2 separate regions of the Homo sapiens genome follow, and region 2 is linked to region 1. Evidence: promoter capture Hi-C in human tissues and cell types (Jung and others, 2019). All regions are on one chromosome and are shown on one strand. The core of a region is centred on a gene start or on the middle of the fragment in contact, and the rest is flanking DNA. Distances in the headings are between cores, read along the strand shown.

Evidence for each region. Contacts are between HindIII fragments. The study calls those that stand out against the background at their distance.
Region 2: a fragment that was not itself captured here is called in contact with the fragment with the promoter of OR2M7 in region 1 in 3 of the 25 tissues and cell types used here (mesendoderm cells, neural progenitor cells and thymus).

The regions. Positions count from the first base shown.
Region 1 is chr1:248,323,085-248,326,133 of GRCh38, reverse strand. OR2M7 (olfactory receptor family 2 subfamily M member 7) reads left to right here and starts at 1,566. Exons shown (of 1, transcript NM_001004691.1): 1 at 1,566-2,504. The coding sequence starts at 1,566. The coding sequence ends at 2,504. The HindIII fragment of the contact is 10,500 bases long and covers 1-3,049 here.
Region 2 is chr1:248,618,063-248,621,111 of GRCh38, reverse strand. No RefSeq gene overlaps it. Among named protein-coding and RNA genes, the nearest start is that of OR2T11, 16 kb to the left of the region's middle. The HindIII fragment of the contact is 7,017 bases long and covers 1-3,049 here.

The sequences.
Region 1 (3,049 bases), core at 317-2,816:
ACAATAAAAACTTAATGCCACAACATACAAGAAACATAACTCTAAATTAGAAAACCCTATGTTTTCCCAAAATCTTCCACACATTTCTATTTTCTCTGTGTATGTTCTATTTATTGCATTTCATTTTGTGGAATTTATATACGTACAACCCTTTCCTGTGATCTGGTGTCTTTCTCACTTGCTCAGAGTCTTTGCCAAAAGCCATTAGATGTGTGAGGTTTCCCTTGACTACTTTATTCAAAGGTGAACATACTAGTGCATTTCTAACACCCTTCTTTGACTTACTTTTCTCCAAAATGTTTATCCTCTTATGACATAAAGTGTTTTATAATCATCATCTGATCACACTCACTATGACCTGTATGGACACGGGCTTTCTTTATTCTGGTCACTGTGGTAGCCCCAGTGATCAACACATAGCCAGGCTTCATAAATGTTGTTGAAAGGATGAATCTCATGCTTTTCTTAATTTCTGTTTTTATATCTACTTATTTTCTATAGGATATATTGGATGTATTAATTTCCTACGAATGCCAGTACAGAGAAATCACAAACAGGTTACCTAAAACAATAGAAATTTATTCTCTCATAGTTTTGGAGTCTAGAAATCTGAAATCAAGTTGTCAGCAGGGTTGGACACTTCTGAGGGCTCTAAGAGGATGAATCTGTCCCATTCCTCTCTCCCAGGTTCCTGTTATAACTAACAGTTTTTGGCATTTCTTGATTTGTAGATGCACCACTCCAATCCCTGCCTCCCCTATCACATGGTATCCTCAGTGTCTCAGTCTTCACATGGCCACCCACTTATCAGAACATGAGTCATATTGAATTAGAGAGACCCACTCTGCTCCAACTTGACCTCACCTTAACTAATTATACCCTTTATGTATTTCTAAACAAGCTCACTTGCTATCTTTTGGGGAAGAAACATAATTCAATGCATCACACTGGGCTATAGAAAAAAGAGCATATGTCTTAGATTTGTATAATTGAAAATCTTTTCAGTGAATCCACTTACTGTATAGAAAACTTACTATAAAGTATAGATAAAATACTTTAAACTGTAAAGTAATAGGTAAACATACACATTTTCTTAACTCTGGTAGGAAAAATGCCTACTATCATGTGAATAAAGGCACAAATTTATTGTCCATTTCTAGTATTGTGTTGGTCACATGGTGACTGAACCTGAATTTCTCTATCAATTTACCTGTAACAGGCTTCTGATGTTTTAGGAACTGTTTGCTTTGGAGACATATTCTTTTTGGAAAAACTCCATTGATCATGTAGTAGATATTGTTATTGTAATTTTTCAATGGAGAAAAAGAATGCTTAGAAGAAAAGTTAGGACAAGCTCCATAATTTTATAAGTGAGACACTGCTGAGAGAACATATTTCTTTATGATTCCATAATTCTTAAACTTTGAGTTTTATAATTCTGGCCATCCTGTATTGATCACCAAACTACAGAATTTACCATAATCACATGCTTTATAAGGCACTGGGTAAATGTTTATCAAATTAATGAACTGTTTTTGCGGTGCTAGGTAACAGGCATATTCATCATGGCATGGGAGAATCAGACCTTCAACTCTGACTTCCTCCTCCTGGGAATCTTCAATCATAGCCCCACCCACACCTTCCTCTTCTTTCTGGTCCTGGCCATCTTTTCAGTGGCCTTCATGGGAAACTCCATCATGGTTCTCCTCATCTACCTGGATACCCAGCTCCACACCCCCATGTACTTCCTCCTCAGCCAACTGTCCCTCATGGACCTCATGCTCATCTGCACCACTGTACCCAAGATGGCCTTCAACTACTTGTCTGGCAGCAAGTCCATTTCTATGGCTGGCTGTGCCACACAAATTTTCTTCTATATATCATTGCTTGGCTCCGAATGCTTTCTGTTGGCTGTTATGTCTTATGACCGCTACACTGCCATTTGCCACCCTCTAAGATACACCAATCTCATGAGACCCAAAATTTGTGGACTTATGACTGCCTTCTCCTGGATCCTGGGCTCTACAGATGGAATCATTGATGCTGTAGCGACATTTTCCTTCTCCTACTGTGGGTCTCGGGAAATAGCCCACTTCTGCTGTGACTTCCCTTCCCTACTAATCCTCTCATGCAATGACACATCAATATTTGAAGAGGTTATTTTCATCTGCTGTATAGTAATGCTTGTTTTCCCTGTTGCAATCATCATCACTTCCTATGCTCGAGTTATTCTGGCTGTCATTCACATGGGATCTGGAGAGGGACGTCGCAAAGCTTTTACTACTTGTTCCTCTCACCTCATGGTGGTGGGAATGTACTATGGAGCAGGTTTGTTCATGTGCATTCAGCCCACATCTCATCATTCTCCTATGCAGGACAAGATGGTGTCTGTATTCTACACCATCGTCACTCCCATGCTGAATCCTCTCATTTATAGCCTCCGCAACAAGGAAGTGACCAGAGCATTAATGAAAATCTTAGGAAAGGGCAAGTCTGGAGATTGAGTTACCTCATAAATTTCATGTTTTGCTGTCTGCTAACGTCTTCTTTTTATTGTCTCTCTTTTTCTATTAAGTCCTAAAAATATCACTAATTGTGTGCATTGCTCAACATATTGATGGGTACCAGTATAATTTATTTCAGATAAACTATTTTAGATTTTTTAATATTCAATTCAGTTATGACTACAATATAAGGCATTTTCAATAAAGACATTCCATTTTTATTTTTAAATTTCATTATCATTTTGGGAAACACATAGTGTTTGGTTACATTAATAAGTTCTTTAATGGTGATTTCTGAGATTTTAGTGCAGCGATCAACCAAGCAGTGTTCGCTGTACCTAATGTGTAGTCTTTTAGCCCTCTCCAGTCCCCAACATTTCTTCCAAGTCCCCAAGTCCAGTGTATCATTTTTATGCCTTGGTGTTTCATAGCTTAGCTGGCACATATGAGTGAGAATATACGATGTTTGGATTTCCATGCCTGTGTGACTTCACTTTGTATAATAGTCTCCAATTCCAACCAGGTTGCTGCAAATGCTATTAATT
Region 2 (3,049 bases), core at 281-2,780, 300 kb before region 1:
GGATAAATATTCCTAAATACTACAGTTTAATTTTTACTATTCATTGAAAATTATATAAATTGTATACCCTGTCGATGAAAAGTCAAACCCTGTATTTTAAGATTTATTCTGAGCCAAATGAGTGACCAATGGCCCATGGAACCACCCTCAGAAGATCCTGAGAAACACGGGTCTGAGGTGGCCGGACAACTTGGTGTTACGCATTTTAGGGAGACATAAGACATCAGTCAACATGTATAAGATGTACAGTGGTTTGACCTGGAAACACACAACAATTGGAAGCAGGAGTTTCTAAGTCAGAGGCAGATTCAAAGATTTTCTGATTGGCAATTAGCTGAAAGAGTTGTTTATCAGTAGAAAGAAATGTCTGGTTATGGTAAGGGTTTGTGGAGACCAAGACTTGATCTTGTAGATGAGGCCTCCAACAAGCAGGCTTCAGAGAGAAGATTGTAAATGTTTTTTAATTAGACTTAAGTCTTAAAGAATCTGTTCTATCAGTAATTCCAAAAGGGAGGGAGGGTATCCTGAGGCATGTCAAGCTCTTCCTTCCTATCATGGCCTGAACTAGTTTATCAGGTTAACTTTGGAATGCCTTTGCTGAGACGAGGGCCCTATTCAGATGGTTGAGGGAGGCTTAGAATTTTACTTTTGGTTTAAAACCCTTTAGTATTTAGCCGGAATTTTAGGAAGGGGACCCTGATTTTTGTAGTGAGAAGAACCCATATTAGTGCCCATGGACATAAACATACACAAACAACAAATAAGCAATTCAAGATCTGATAAAAAGATAATGACATTGAAAGATGCTTCTGAACCCTATGTCTGAGGCCACCAAACAATCCAAGCAAAATCATTCTTGTGACCTGGTTACAAAGATGTGCATTTCAAATACCAGTAAAGAGAAAAGACACAAAAATGGGAAGATTAAAAGAATTTTTAAAAAGAAAACAGATTCCTTATTAGCCTTTCCATCAGAATGAGCTTATTTCCAGAGTCCCAGCCATTAATGAAGAGCCTAGAGTAGTTATGAACAAAATTTGACTTCACCTCTCAAAACCTGACTTGGTGAACAAGGTCCCAAAACTAGCTGCCATCAGTGATATGCAGAAGAGCAAGTGCAGAGGGCAAGCTGGGCTACAAGAGGACTCTAAGGGGCACAAGCAGGTTGTGTGGTTCAGTCTCCTGTGAGCATGCTCTGAGAGGCAGATAGGTCTAAAGAGCAGAGATGGAAGATTGACACTGATAGAATACCATGTCAGAAGTCAGAGTCACAATCACTTTGGTGACTGAGTGGGGACAGGACAGGTTTTGAGGGTTGGTAATCATTCTTGACCAGCTGGGTCAAGAAAGAGATTGAGCTCCTGGTCTCTAGCAATCCTCCCACCTCAGCCTCCCCAGTAGCTAGGAGATATATGTATTTGTATATACATATATATGGGTGTGTGTGTATATATACATATATATGTATACATGAAAGAAAACTGACTAATCTCTATATATATGTGTATGTGTGTGTGTATATATATATATGTATATAGAATCTCCTTCTGATAAATATCCTGTTGAAACTGTGACTCCCTCAGGAATTCTCGGTGCCGTCTTCACAGCCCTCCCTCTTCTGCAGCCCCTGCTCTGCCGCTTCCATCCAGGCTGCTTGCCCCAGAGATGGGCTGCGCTGCACGGGGCTCCTCCTGAGATGCTGCCTCTTCCCCATGACCCTCTGGATTCTTGATTGTCTGTGTACCACGTCTTCTACTTTAAAACCTCCCCATTGTGGAGCATGTCTTTCAACAGGTTTATAAACAAAGTACGTGGGAGGAAATTTTTTAAAGGCCTTGCATGTTTGAAAATGACTTTTTTTATCCTCCCACTTTGACAGTAGATCTGGCCAGGTGTCAATGTGTAGGTTGAAAAAAGCTTTCCCTCATGAATATGAGGATGTCCCTCCTCCATTGTCTTCTAACATTCAGTATTTCTCCTGGGAGTTCCATGCTCTCAATTTTAGTTGTGTTGTCGTCCCCTGGAGGCTTCAGGCTCTCCTTTGGCAGTCGTGTTAAACATTCATAATGTCTTCATAAGGGCTCTTTTTAACAATTATGTTGGGCAATTGATGAACCTTTTAATCTTGAAACGTGTCTTTCAATTCCAGAATTTTTGCTCTGAAACATGACTGAAATATGTGCTTTCCTTCCATCTAAAACATTCTTTTCCTCTGGAATTTTTATTACTTGATTTGCCTCCTGACTCACAAACTGGATCTCTTCTTCTACCTTCTTTTGCATCTGTCTTGTCCTACTTTACAGTCTACACTGCCATAATCTAAATGTTCAAGAACTCTTAAAAATTTCTCCAATGCTCTGTTTAAAACACCCTGTTCTAGTTTAATATCTGTTTGTATGTTCTTATCTGTCATAGCAGATTAGTCAGTTATCTTTTATAGAAAGAGTTTCTCTAATTACTGCATACTGTATTTCTTCTTATTTTCACTGATTTGTGTGATTTCTGCCTTTTATTTTAGAAGCTTTCCTCAAGTTTTGTAATCCCTGTCTCTCTCCTAATGTTAGTCTCTGGATAAGGACAAGCCTTAACGAGTAGGAGTCACTAAACTATGATGTAAATGACTTATTTTGGAAACCTCAAATGTCAGTATTCCTAGGTATTTTCTTTGGTATGGTCTGCTTCCTCTGCAAATCTTTCTGGGGGCTGCCAGCATTCTGAGAACCCACGTTGGGGAAACGTGCTGGTGTGCTTCACAATGTAGGGTGCAGACTTCCCACTTACACCCACGCAATGTCTGTTTTCCAATCCCAGAGCCCTTTGGGTACACCACCACCTCCCAAGTTAGTGTCGCGTCAGGTCGGGGAGGAAGGGTTGTCTAACTAAAGTGCGTGTATAACAGTTTTTATACAAACTTTTAGCCAAGCCTCCCATTTCAATGTTACCTGTAATATTTAGACAGACCTGATTAGGAGTTCTTCCAGCAGGAATCAACTTGCTTCCGAACTTCTCCACTCACCAGCTCAGTGTTCTGCTTTGAGATTTTTGAGTC